3 separate regions of the Homo sapiens genome follow, and all the other regions are linked to region 3. Evidence: promoter capture Hi-C in 16 types of primary human blood cells and fetal thymus (Javierre and others, 2016). All regions are on one chromosome and are shown on one strand. Each heading gives the region's core, a stretch centred on a gene start or on the middle of the fragment in contact. The rest is flanking DNA. Distances are from core to core; before and after follow the strand shown. Region 1 has its middle 110 kb from the start of CDH17. Region 2 overlaps LOC124901979 (a long non-coding RNA gene). Region 3 holds the start of GEM (GTP binding protein overexpressed in skeletal muscle).

What was found. The method cuts DNA at HindIII sites, captures the fragments that hold promoters and counts their contacts. A CHiCAGO score of 5 or more calls a contact.
Region 1: a fragment that was not itself captured here is called in contact with the fragment with the promoter of GEM in region 3 in 1 of 17 cell types (M2 macrophages); the score reaches 5.7 in M2 macrophages.
Region 2: a fragment that was not itself captured here is called in contact with the fragment with the promoter of GEM in region 3 in 2 of 17 cell types (M0 macrophages and M1 macrophages); the score reaches 5.6 in M0 macrophages.

Annotation. Positions count from the first base shown.
Region 1 is chr8:94,094,857-94,099,415 of GRCh38, forward strand. No RefSeq gene overlaps it. Among named protein-coding and RNA genes, the nearest start is that of CDH17, 110 kb to the right of the region's middle. The HindIII fragment of the contact is 4,424 bases long and covers 1-3,772 here.
Region 2 is chr8:94,025,841-94,030,948 of GRCh38, forward strand. The region is part of intron 1 of LOC124901979 (a long non-coding RNA gene); the gene reads left to right. Among named protein-coding and RNA genes, the nearest start is that of PDP1, 110 kb to the left of the region's middle. RefSeq lists an enhancer at 5,054-5,108. The HindIII fragment of the contact is 936 bases long and covers 2,237-3,172 here.
Region 3 is chr8:94,260,735-94,265,128 of GRCh38, forward strand. GEM (GTP binding protein overexpressed in skeletal muscle) reads right to left here and starts at 1,585. Exons shown (of 5, transcript NM_005261.4): 1 at 1,356-1,585. RefSeq lists a silencer at 827-896. The HindIII fragment of the contact is 9,385 bases long and covers 1-4,394 here.

The DNA of each region.
Region 1 (4,559 bases), core at 311-2,810, 170 kb before region 3:
GCATCCATTTTGCCCTTTCTTCTGTTAAAAGAAAATCTTCAGACAAATTTAACAGCTTGAGGAAAGAATGATTCATGAATAAGGCAGCACTCAAAACCAAAGGCAATTCAGAGAGCTCTACCTAGCCATGTGAACAGGGAGCTTTTATGGACCGAATGCGGAAGCAAAGTAGAGAAGTTACTTGATAGGCTACAGCTAAGTATTTGCCTTATTTGAGCATGGTCTGATCAGGTGGCTGTCTGTTAATGGCCGAAGTTCAGCTCTTTGTTGTAAAATATGCTCCTAAATGAGGTTTCTGTTTCTTTAAATTAGGTTGCAGTTTGTTACCCAGGAACCCAGAGTATGGAGACAGCATCATGGTCATAGCATCCTGCTTATGTAATTTAACACTTCTAATAAAATCCATTTCATTCTTCCCCAGTGTGGCCTTGGGAAAACCAAATGCACCCCTGCTCCAGCAACTGGCTTGATTCATCTCAGGTTAAACCTGTCTCCTTCCCAGTGATTGGTTCAGGGATGGGCATAGGTACCTCTTATCTGGAAAGTTAGATGAGAGAACAACATTCCTGGGGAAGATCTTAGAAGTTTCCTTAATCTTTGATGCCTGGGATGGCTGCAGCCATACAGCTAACAGATTAGGCAGAGCCAGCATGAGAATGGCAGAGCCAGGAGAGGGAGACCAGCTTACTCAATGGCACAGTTGAGCCACTGAATCAAACAGTCCTGAAAACTGAATTATTCTAGAAACCTTGTTATGTAAGATAATTGATATCCCTACTGATTAAGCCAGTTTGAGTTTGTTTTGCTACTTGCAACCTAAAGTATTCTAATTAATACATTGCTATTATTTTCCCCACTTGGAAATCAAGAGTCAGACAGCTAAATAACTCAAAGTCTCCAGCAAGTGACTGAGAAAGCCAGGTCTCTCCAACTCTAATGCCAAGTTCTAACCTGCTAACTAATCTGGAAATGGTCTGTTCATGTCAGGGAGGAGAGCCATGGAACCAATGGCCCAGATACTCATGGGGCTGGGACATCAGAAGGGAGCAATCTAATTGCTCTCTGAGTGTTCCTCATCAGGTGGGGGTGAACAAAAATCTGAGGCAGGGCCCCCTAAGCAGCCAGGATGGGTGGTACTGCATGGGAGAGGCCCCTGTATTTCCCTTTAGAAGCACTAAAGTCTCTAAAGGGAGCTTGACCAAGTTTACAATATTGAAAACATTTTCAGAGCTTTTCCATGTACGAGATGCTTTTTTGATACATGACTTCAGTTCTGTTTTTTTTAATCCTATTGAGGCATGAAGTAGCCTCCACTTTACAGAGGAGAAAACTGAGACTCTGCAAGGCTACAGGACTTGCCCCAAATCTCCCTTGTAAGTGGTGAAACTGACACTTGATCCAAGGGCTGCCTCAGTCCCATGCTTTTCCCATGTCACACTGTCAGTGTGACTCTTGTCCCTGCAGGTGACATGTTCAAGGCCACATACTTATTTTTATCAATACCTTGGGAAAGGTGGCTTGCATGGCCAATACTATGACTCTAAGTGATTTAGAGAGAGGTCTAGATTCTCGCCCTTCTGGAGGGAAAGAAAGGAGGTGACTGCCTTGAGTTAGTTCCCACACTATGTGTCTGCTGCACTTGAGCCAAGAATTCTTATTGTCTGGAACAGGGAGAAGTCCTTTAGGGTGGGCTGGAGAACCTCATGCAATGAGCCTCTTGGCCAAACCTCCTGCAGGATTGGAATTCCACAGCACAGAGAAACCTTTAATTGAAATGCTCTTTGCTTCCCCCCAGTTCCCTTAGGCCATGAGGGAAAAGGATTCCCAGTACCTATCTCTCTTGGTACCTGGCAAAAATGCCATGTTGAGAAAAAGTCTTATCACAAATAGGTGGAGAAATTCAGACTATTGGTTTCCTAAGGTTACTAGCTGAGTTCTCTCCTTGGTCATTTATACAGATAATTGCCTCAAGCAAGTACACACCCACCTGGAACTATTCTGTTGTCCTCAACAACAGCTGTATGCACTGCCCAGAGAGACTGAAATTCTGCATGTGGCCTCTCCCTGACATTGCCATGGGATGGTCTAATTTTTTTAAACCACTTATTGAATGCCAACTGAGTACCAGGCACTAAACATACCCTTAATCTTCACAACCCTATAACGGCAGGTATTATTATTCCCCCTGAACTGATGAAGAAACTTATGTCCGGACTGACTTGCTCAGACACACAGAGCAAGTAAATGGCAGAGAAGGCATCAATTCTGTGAGGCTCGGCTTTCATTGCGGGTACGTGTGCTACCCACTGTGACTAGCCCATAGTGACAGAGTAGCAAGAACAGGACGTCATGGCAGTTCTGGTTTATGGTCTGTCAACTACGTGTACATATTATGCTAGAGCTTGGTGGAATCATGGTTGACTAAAGCCCTGGTTTTCAGTGAGCTTCTAGTCTAGTGGAGACAGATGCTCTGGAAGAAACTTATATTTGAAATCTAATATATTCATTCTCCTGTTCTTCTAAAGTAATAGAATTTTTAACTGGGTATATGATTACCAAGCCAAACACTGTCTTCCAGCCTCTCTCGCAGCTAGTGGTGGTCCTATAACAACGTTCTGGATTATGGGATGTAAGTGATCTGTGTAACATATAGTTGTGCCTTAAAAAGAAATGATGTCCCCATGCTTTCCCCTTCTTTTCCTTCCTGTTACTTGGAAGCAGATATGACGGCAGGAGCTGGAGATGCCCTGAAGAACCATGAGGTAGAAGCCACATTGTGAGGATGGCAGAGCAGCAGAACCTGGGCTCTGATGATTATAAAACAACCATAGCAAGCATGGACCATGTCCCTGGACTTCTACCTGAGAGAGAAGGCAACTTTTAATGTAAATGACTTTAACTTAGGTCTCTTTGTTAAAGAAGCCAACTTTATATTCCAATGAATACAGATGTGAACACAAATACCTGTAAATCAATGTCTAATGACATGGTAGCTTCCATCTGTCTAGTGGTGGGACCTAAGCAGAGAGCCCCAGTTTACCCCTGGGAGCCCCCAGCGGTGCTTCACAAGTGCTTCCAACCAGCTTGCTACCGTGCACATTTGCTCTGTTCTTCCTCTTCTTCTCCCTGCCATCCACACTGCCTTCAGCACAGCAAGTCTCTTCACAGTGACAGCTCATCACAAGAAGCCCACCACCCAGGCCAAGCGTGCCATCTCCCCTCATCCAAACCCTCCAGGCCTCTGAGTGGAGGGAGGTGCAGACATTCTTTGCAAAGGCCAGAAAGGACTCTCTTGGGCCTCTGGCTGCTCTGTGTCTTCTGGGCCATCAGAGCAGCACTAGTCAAAGCCCCTTTGGACAGTGGTGTCAGCTTTGGGTCTTCTCTCTTCAACACAGGCCACACTCAATGCATAGGGCCATCCCTAAGATAATAGATATGAAATCATTGCTGCTGTCTTTCTAAATCACGGCTGCTTTTTCCTCTTCTTCCTCTCCATGCCCCTATCTAGGTTCTTCCTCCTCCACTGCTCACCACCCAAACACTCACAGACCTATGAATAAAGGCAAACAACCCTAATGTGCATTGAGTGTTATGTAGGGGTAACACTGGCAGCAGGCAGCCAAAGTCAAGCCATATATACAGCAGGAGCTGATGTGTGCATGCACACATGCATGTGCATGCATGTTGAGCAGGGGGGATCCTGTATTACCTGTACACCCTGCTGTAGGGGCATAAAAGAAGGAGAGGTTTTCCAAGAGGAGCAGCCATGGAAAGCTTCCTTGAGGAAGCATTCTCTCCAGGTCCAGGCCAGTGACAGGGAGCTCAGAGATGACGGTCAATGTCCCATTCCTTCTGAACTCTTGACAGGTAGCTAGAGGACAGAGCTGGCAGGAACACTGATAACTGAGCCAATGAGTGTGTCCTGCCTTTACCCTTTGCACGGGTTCATTTTTCAAGGGTTCACAAGACTAAAGTGCCTAGAGGGGCCATGAAGGAAATGTCCATGAATGAAACAGAAAACAGGACAGGAGTCTCACCCAAGGGGACAGCAGATGCTCAGATCCTGCCTTCTGTGGCCATGCAGGAATAGGGACCCAGATGAGATTAAATCAGATTTGTCAAAGAGAACAACCAAGAAATCTGAATTTTTCATGTAAAATACCACAGTTTTTAAATGCTGATAACTAACTCAGATATTTAAAAATCACTAGGCTGTCCAAATGAAAGTCATCTTTGGGCCATGTTCAGCTCCATCCTGACATTCTGAGACCAAGTTTATTTCTGTACTGGTACCATGTTTGCTGAAACCTTGCTATGAACTTGGCACTGTGTTAGCTCCAGGCTGTATATGCGTGGTGGGGGAGAGGCATAAAACTAGGCTCCTGCCCTCAAGGAGGTTATAATCTATGAGGAGAGGGACAACATAGACATGCATTTGCAGGGAGGAGGGGGTCACATCTCGTTTTGGGAAATCAGGGATCACTGCCTGGAGGAAGCACCTCTTCCAGGAGGAGGAGAAGAATTTCAGGAAGCATGAGGTAGCTCAATGGCACCAAATG
Region 2 (5,108 bases), core at 1,455-3,954, 230 kb before region 3:
CCCAAATAAACCACTACATGTAGGCATTTGTCTCAGGCTCTGCTTCCCGAAGAACTCAGGCTAAGACAGCAACCTAATTTCATTACTTGAATCTAAAAATGCTTTCTTGTTGTAGAAAACCCACCTATATACAGGTCAAAATCCTCTGGCTCCAAGAAGAATGCATTAAATCCTACCATGCCCTTTAAATCACTGGTCCCTTGGAAGTTGTTGAATGAGGCAAACTGGATGAGTGGATCTGGACATGTGGCTCTCAGGTAAAAGCAGTTATCTTAGGGGTCTCCAGCTACCATCTAATGGGTAATGATCCTACCTGAGATGGGCAGGAGCTGAGGAGCCCGGGAGCCGACTCAATGATCAGGTGTGAAGGGTGAGTGCAAGGCTGGGGTGTAGGTTGAGGTAAGAGGCCATGAGGCAAAGCTCTGAGGTCACTGTCACAGCGGGGACTGGGGTGCAAGGTAGCCTGACGTGGAATGGTTCAAGGCAAAGATTGTGAAGAAATCCAGGACACAGAGAACAAGCTGTCGTTGGATGCTGGCCCTAGGTGGCATGTAGACCAGGGGCTAGAAGGTAACTGCTAGGCTGAATGAGTGGGTCGCATGGAGATTTCTCAACTTCCAGGCAGCGCTCCATACCCACAGCAACCCAAATAAGCAGAATCTTTGGTGAGAGGAAGCAAAGAAGGCCCTGGGGCTAGAGACAGAGGACAGAGAGTAATCAGCCAAGTTTCCTCCTCTCTGTTAGGGTCTGGACCTCCTTCCCTGGCTATTTGCTTCTTCCCTTTTTATTGAGGTAAAATTAATATAACATAAAATTAATTAAAGTGTGTAATTCAGTGGCATTTAGTCCATTTGCTTTATTGTGTAACTACCACCTCTATCTAATTCCAAAACATGTTCCTTACCCTGCAAGGAAATCTTGTATCCACTCAGCAGTCATTCCCCATTCCCCTACCCCTTCCCCAGTCTCTGGTAACCTCTAATCTGCTTTCTGTCTCTATGGATTTACCAATTCTGGGTGTTTCATATAAATAGAATCATACAACATGTGTCTGGCTTTGTTCACAAAGCATAATGTTTTCAAGATTCATCCATGTTGTGGCACATATCAGAATGTCATTCCTTTTTTTTTTTGAGATGGAGTTTTGCTCCGTTGCCCAGGCTAGAGTGCAATGGCGCAATCTCGGCTCACTGCAACCTCCGCCTCCTGGGTTCAAGTGATTCTCCTGCCACAGCGTCCTGAGTAGCTGGGATTACAGGCACCCACGACCACACCTGGCTAATTTTTTGTATTTTTAGTGGAGACAGGATTTCACCATGTTGGCCAGGCTGGTCTTGAATTCCTGACCTCAGGTGATCCACCCACCTCAGCCTCCCAAAGTGCTGGGATTACAGGCATGAGCCACCACGCCCAACCCAATGTCATTCCTTTTTAAGGCTGAGTAATATTCCATTGTATAGACATACCACATTTTGTTTACCTATTCATTAGTTGACAGAAACTTGAGTTGTTTCTACCTTTTGGCTATTGTGAACAGTGCTGCTATGAACATTTGTGTGTAAGTTTGTGTTTGAGTCCCGGCTTTCAGTTCTTTTGGGTATATATCTAGGAGTGTAACTGCTCACCATCCATTTTTTATGTGTGCTCCTTTTACCAATGTGCTTGTTTGCACCCCCAAGACTCTCTGCCAACTGACTCACTAAGAAGGTCAATAACCTTTTTGAACTACAGCTCCATGAAAGGAATTAGGGCTGCCACTTAGTAGGTTGGTGCAATTAAATTGCGGTTTTTGCCATTAAAATTAATGGAAAAATTGCAAATACTTTTGCACCCACTAATAAATACATACGACTTGGCCAAAGCTAAAGAGGTTGACTTCTGGAAGAAGACTGTGAGGAGTTGACCTAAGTGTTTCATTTGTCTCCCTTCTCCACACAATAAAGATCTCAGCCTTGGATGGATTCAGCTGTGAGTGAGCGCTGGTGTGTATGTCCTCGTGATCACAGATGCATAGATTTCAGTACGTTGATGTCACAAATACATAGATTTCAGTACATCGATAAATCATTTCAAAAGGGCGGTGTCCCTGTGCCCTCATTTTCATATCCCCTTGTGGAAAGTCTTTCAGCGTACAGTTGGTTATTCATATTTGTTGCCATGTAAGCACTATCTAGGACAAATTTTTAAAAAATAGAAAAACAGAGGGGAAAAAATAGAAAGGACTTGACACTAGCCAAGCTTAAGGCCAGTTATCTGCATTAAAACATACTACTTGTGCTGTGACAGTCTAGGTTGGATGGAAGCCTTTCTGTTTTCTATTGTTGGAATGCCCTCTAGACTAGATTTGGAAATGTTTCACTGTGGTGGTTATAAGACATCAAGTCATGGCTGGCTTTGATTAGAACTTGTCCTAAGAAATAAATGCCGTTTTAAGCAACAAACATCCCAGAGTTCTCTTTCAGCAAGCTGTTCTGTTTTGGAAAGTTGACCATGTGTGTCTGAGTACGTAATATGTTTGTGGGGAACAACCTGTGGTCAAGATGGAGACAAGAAATACTAATTCAAAGCAATGTGCATAGGGATATACAATGTATTAAGAATATTTATGGGCAGTTGGATCTGCTTCCCTCCCACCTTGACCTCTTACTTCAGCTCCTGAGCTATTACTGTGAGTGCAGCAGCGCCGCTGCAGCGGGAGGGTTTCCCACTTCCTCTGCTGCATCTCCCGGCTGCTGCGAGCGCTCACATCCCTCCCCGGCTGCCCGCGACTCAGATTTTCCATTGTGGAGGTCACTGACAGTGGAGCAATTAAACAGAAGCGGAATAGCTGAGATATTTAAGTTTCTGTCCATAAATCTTGGTGGGAACCTTACAAGGGCCTTGCTTTAATTATTTTCTTTCAGAATCCCGAGATCAACAGGAACAACCCTTTGGGAGCCAGCTTGCTATTTGGATTTTTAACTCCCCTCATCAGTCTTACCAAGTGTTTTAACTGGTGATGGTTTTCATTAGAAAGCTCAATTTGCATCTTGAGGTTTCATGCATATTTTAGTAATGTATGCAGAAGGAAAATGGCAAAGAGGCATCTAGAATTTTAGCTTCCAGAATTAAAAAAAATTAGTAAACATTACTAGGAAAACTCTTAAGTTTTAAATTCGGTGGTTTCAAACAAAGCTTCTCTTCTCATCTTCACAAAAATAGTGTCCTTCGGTACCTAATAGTCTATAAAGTGCCTTCATCTACCTGGCATCGTGAGGTATCATCGTCTTCCAAACATTATTTGTGTTATAACCCACGTCTTACAGATGACAAAATGGAGGATCAGGAGAAAGCTGAGCATGGTGGTTTACAGCATGGACTCCGAAGTAAAGGAAACTAGGATTGAATCCTGGCTCCACCTCCGTCAGATTACTTGATCTGTCTTTGCTCAGCTTCCATATCTATAAAATGGAACTAATGAAACCTTAGTAATTAGGTCTTATGGTTGCCGAAAGAATTAAGTGAGTTTATATATATGTTAACTTAGTAAGAAACATTCACAAGGAGTCCTTCAGATCTCTCTCCCATGGGTTTTAAGGTTTTAAGTCCCCTGGCCTTCTACTCTTAGGGTGGGCTCCATCTGTTAATGCCCAAAGTAAGGCAGCAGAATTGGCTCATGCAATCAACCACATATGGAGGCCATCTAATTGGAAATTTTTCATCAAACTCTGTTTTCTCTTTGCTAAAATGGTGCTAAGAATAGTCTCAATATCATAGAGATGTCATAAGGATCACGTGAGGCTCACATGCATAGTGCCTGGCATATGATATTTAATGCATGTTATTAACTGCTATTATTATTACTAATATAATATTTAATATCAATTATTATTTTACTATCACCTAACCTTTCAAAACTATACCAATTTCCTTTCCATTCTATTCTTATCAAAGAAAGAAAAGAAAAAAATTATCTGTCCCTACTTTTCATAAGAAGAATTTATAAGAACTCTTTAACCACATCTACTTATTTTCTGTCTGCAGACTCAACTACTGTCTTCACTATGCCATTACATTGCCGCCCATGTACTAGCACGCAAAGCACCTGGAATCACATCAGGAGGCCTATTTCCTGATCCCTAATCCAGCAGTAATTTACTGTGTGACCTTAAGCAAATCACTTGGCATTTCAATTCCCCAGTTTCTTCATCTGTTAAAAGCAACATGATCGAACTAAAGTCTCTTTTACTGCTAAAATCACGTGTGTAAAATCTCTCCATATGTATAGCCATATATTTATCTCTCCATCATAAATATTTTTATTATTTAAAGCCACTTTGTAATTAGCTCAGTAAAATCTTTATTTCTATTTTCCTATGAGGTAGCACACAGCGTCCTGCAGGGAGTTACCAGCAGAGACAGAATTAGAAAGTGCAGACCTTGGCCTTCAGTCTCTGATTTAGCTCAGATCCCATCCCTGCTTAATCATCCAAACCTAACATTCTACTAAAGAACTCGCTGGACCTGTGGGAGTGCTCAGAGGTGTGAGGGGAGTGGTGCTCCACCTTTCTCAGTTCTCAGGGATGCTCTTGTCATTCTTTTATCCAAATGTCCCTGCATTACTTTGCGTCAGACATTTTTCAAAAATAGCTCAAAACTTCTCAAAAGTATTTTCAATAGCTCTCAAAAATATGTATCTTAATTTACACATATGTACATGTAGGAAGGTGAAAAAAGTGGTAGGAAGGTGAAAAAAGTGGTAGGAAGGTGAAAAAATGTTAAATTCTGTCTGACTTGTAGCAATATGACATTTGATACCTTTAGTGCCTTTAAAATGCATACATTTGGAAGCTACAATGTATTGTTCCCCTGTGGCCAAGAGTCCAGATTTCCCTTTATTCTTCATGCTTAGGTTTTTATTAATAGAAGCCTGATAAGTCTCGTCTTTATAATATTGGCAAGGCTTTAAAAGCTTGACCAAGGGCTTTTAAGATTTGATGGGACTTTGGGTAAAAACACAGACTTGTGTTTAGGGAAATACAATGATTTCTCAGAATCCATCTTATCCAAAGGGGAATTCTTGGCCTAAACTTCTGGCAGGGTCATTGTGAATTCATTCACAAAGGGCC
Region 3 (4,394 bases), core at 335-2,834:
GACTATCATTTGCATGGGAAAACAAATACGGTTAACATCACCCACTGCCCATGGGCTTCCCCCTTCCTCAAAGCAGACTTGGATGAAAGAAGAGCTGCACTCAGAGCTGGCACAAAGGCAGCTGGAAAGAACCAGCAGACTCCAAAGATGGCTTGAAAAGCAACAAGTTAATGTTGCTGGGGACCAGCTGGTCAGGTTAGCTGCTCTTGTCTAAACTTGGCTCTTAATTGCACCAGTGTCCAGCAGGTTTTGTGCCTCAGTGGGAAACACGTGGCAATGACATCACCCTCCCCTCCCCTGCCCACTGCAACCCTGGCTGGACTGGACAGGCACTTATTGGAACTTCCATGTTTAGTAAAGTTGCCTTGATGCTCTCCAGCTGCCTGGAGAGCATCCACCTGCCATTATTGGGGGTAGGGGGGAAATTTTCTGTTTAAAGTTTATGCCTCAGCTGTGCCCTCTTACCCACAGATACCACTTTTAAAACATCCCGGCTCCAAACCTAGACACCCTGGCAGAGAAATGACCTGCTCATGTTCAGACCTATGAAATTTGCAGAGAAAGTGCCTCATTCTTAAAAAACCACATCCATTCTCAAGAGTTCTTTAATTCAACTCAGATTCCTTTTTTGAGTCAGGGTCTTGCTCTGTCACCCAGGCTGGAGTGCAGTGGCACGATCATAGCTCACTGTAGCTAGCCTCCAACTGCCAGGCTCAAGAGATCCTCCACTTCAGCCTCCCAAGTAGCTGGGACTACAGACCTGCACTACCACGTCCACTAGTTTTTTTATTTTTATTTTTATTTTTTGGTAGAGACAGTGGCCTCACTATGTTGCCCAGGCTGGTCTCGAACTCCTGGGGTCAAGTGATCCTCCTGCCTCGGCTTCCGAAAGTGCTGAGATCACAGGCCTGAGCCACCATTCTCAGATCCCCTTCTTGAAGCAAATCAGAAGGCTGAAGACTCCCCTAAATGATATTCAACAACTTCTCTACAACTTTCCCTTTGCAGACTGCCTCCCCTAGCCGGGAGGTCTGTTTTTCCGGCTACTGGTGATAAAGTATAAGTACTTACGTTGCAATCAGCAAGATGCACAAACACTCCTCTCCCACCCTCACCCCCACACTCCGTACCCCAACATCTCGCCACTAACCAGGACGACCAGCCGGTTTTTTAGTCTCAAAAGCAGCACCTCAGTTGGCAGACTTACATTCAAACAACAAATACATAAAGCATCATTAAGGGCTGCCCTCTCTGACCACTCGATCTGTAGAGGGAGGTGACCCTTCTACCGAATTGAACTAAGGAACCTGCTGATGAGAAGCGACATCCTTTGCACTTGAAGCTCTGACCCCTACCAGAAAATCCCAGTGCTGAGCGCACGTTCCAGGGGTTCTTTTCTCAACTTCGAAAGTTCTGCGGGCTGGGAAACTCCCACTCTCTCCCTTCTCCGTCTCGGGCCGTCCCCCTTACTTGGCTCGGCCGGATCGGCGTCGGGGCGTCAGCGTATCGCGTGGGTCCGCGCTGGGATACCCGGGCCAACGAGCGGGGAGTGCTGCGCTGTGCCCGCCGTCCTTGCCCGCCGCCTGCAGCCGCCGCGGCCGGGCGGTTTATAACCAGCCCAGCCGACCCGCCGCGGGGCTTTTCCGTGACGTCAGCGCCCCCGCCGGGAGGGGGCGGCTCTGCAGCAAACTCGGAGTTGCAGCCACTTGGCTAAATCAGTTACTCGCAGTCATGTGACCCCTTCTCTCTCCATTTAAAAAATAATGACAGTTCAATCCTGGGCCTCCTTTATTTTGTTTTATTTTCTTTTTACCAGATGAACACAGGAAAATGGAAAAATACACTAAGTGACACTTAATCGTCCTTCCCAGCAAAGCACTTGCGAGCTGTCGGGATAAAGGATGGAAGGGAGAGGCAGGTTTGAGTTGAGAACTCAGTTTTGCCAAGAAAACAGAGATCAACCTGGAATGCGCAGAGACTTTAGCCTCCAGGATGAGACTGCAGCCACCTTGAATAGCCAAGGCTTGTTTTAACCACATCTTCTGCAACGAAGACAGCCTTGTCACCTTCTTCTGGATAGGGGGAAGCAGATGGAGCCCCACAAGGCTTTGTTTCCCTTCTCTGGCAAGGACCCAGAGAGAAGGGGCCAGAAAGAGGTGAGGAAAGAGGACAAGACCTTGAAAAGGGCAGTTTGGAAAAACAATTTAATTGAGGATCCAAGCAGATTGTGCTAAATATTGCTGGCCCTCCTGCTCTGGGCCAGAATGCTGAGGCTCCTCAATCAGGGAATTTAATCAGCATCCCAATCAGCAGCATCTCTGTACCAGGCTCCCTGGCAAGGCTACGCCTTGGGCATGAGCCAATACAGCCTGGCCATGGGGAGGAGCACTGAGACCAACACCCCTGTAAGAGACTCCTGTGAACAAAGGGCACAGGATAATAACTACTACTACCATTTATTAAGTACCTCTGAGGACCTCTGCTTAGTAGGTACTGTTAGGCCTCCTGGGACCTTAATCCTTACTATACTTCTGCAAGGTGGCTCTATTTCTACCCTCATTGTATGGAGGAGGAAGATAACATAGGGCCAGAGAATTTGCCCAAGGTCACACCGCTGGTATAAGTGGCAGGGTCAGGACTCAAAGCCTGGTTTTCCTGAGTCTCTGCACTGCACCACCAAGTGAAGGATTTCAATGACCTCTTTCTGGGGACATGGGTATTTCCCAGATGCTGTGTTTAGAGATGATGCTGGCCTCTCCAACATATCTGCTTTTCCAGCCAGCTTCAACTCTGGGTTGGCTGGTGGCTCCGGGAAGCAGCCAAAGGCACCAGCATCTATTGAAGCAGCTGGACTCTGCTGTGATTAGAGTCAATTCACAGTTATCCTGCAGGCATTTATCTGCTTTGAGAATTAGCTACATGACCAGCTGCTGAGACCTGCCAGGTCCCAAGCTAGCAAAGGTGGAATCCATAGAGTAATGAAAACTTAGAATTCCTTTAGTCTCAGGTGTTGTGGCCCCAATCTCCTACTTATCTTATACATAAGAAACCTGAGACCCAGAGAGGAGATGACCGCTTAGGACATGACAGAACTGGAACTACAACCTGGGGATCATAATTCTCTGGATGCCCTTTGCTTCTGTCAAGTTTTTCTTCTGGGTTTCGCTGACAGGAAGTGGCTACAGATGTGGGGAAAGGAAAAGGAGAGGAGATGGGGGGTGGGGGAGATCATCTCCAAGAGTATATCACTGACTCCATTCTAAAACACATGTAATTGATGAATAATCCATGTTTCAAAATGATCCATGCTTTTTCCATACTGACACTCCTACTCTGTCAACTGGTCTCAACAGAAACATCATAGGAGTAAAAACTAAGAAGAAATCAGTTTATAAGCATATGATATAGTTCCTCAGTTCTACTTTTGCCGATTGATAAGAATCTAATACTTCACATTTATAAAAACCTAATTCTGGCCAGGCACAGTGGCTCACGCCTGTAATCCTAGCACTTTGGGAGGCTGAGGTGGGTGGATCACGAGGTCAGGAGTTCAAGACCAGCCTGGCCAACGTAATGAAACCCTGTCTCTACTAAAAATACAAAAAAATAGCCGGGCATGGTGGTGGATGCCTGTAATCCCAGCTACTCAGGAGGCTGAGGCGGGAGAATCGCTTGAACCTGGGAGGCAGAGGTTGCAGTGAGCCGAGATCGTGCCATTGCACTCCAGCCTGGGCGACACAGCAAGACTCCATCTCAAAACAAACAAACAAAACAAACAAAAAAAAAACTAATTCCATACCTAGGCAATATCTACTATGAACTATTTGTCATTGGTATATGTGAAACATACAAAAGAAAATGAACTCCAGGGACTGGGGAAAGGGAAGGGGCACACAGCAATGTTGTGTTTGGATAATAGAACAATTTTTAAATTTTTTAAATTGTCTGTCTCACAAGAAGCCACATGAACACAAACAAGAACACTACTTAAGAAGAGTCTTGACTAAAAGTTAAGTTTGAGTAATTATTTAGAGAAAAATCATAGTTATACTTCACAAAAAGCACATCTGAGCGCCAAATCTCATCTAGCCAAGTCTCAGATCCCTCGACCAGGATTCCAGCTCACTGGGATCATCTTGAGGGTGTGGAGCTGGAGAGAAAAGGTAGAATCAGGGCATTTGGGTAAGTGGCAAGTTTTGAAGAGGAAAAATTGGCAGAAAGTTGTCTTTTGTTCTATGAATTATTCTCTCCATATTCTTTCTGCCAGCATTTGAAGGCTTCCTCAGTTTCTAGCTACAATGAGTAGCTCAAGAGTATAGCAAAGAGGCAGAATTCAAAGCAACAAAAATAACTCACATTTACTTACCAAAATGCATGCCTATCTCAGCTAATCC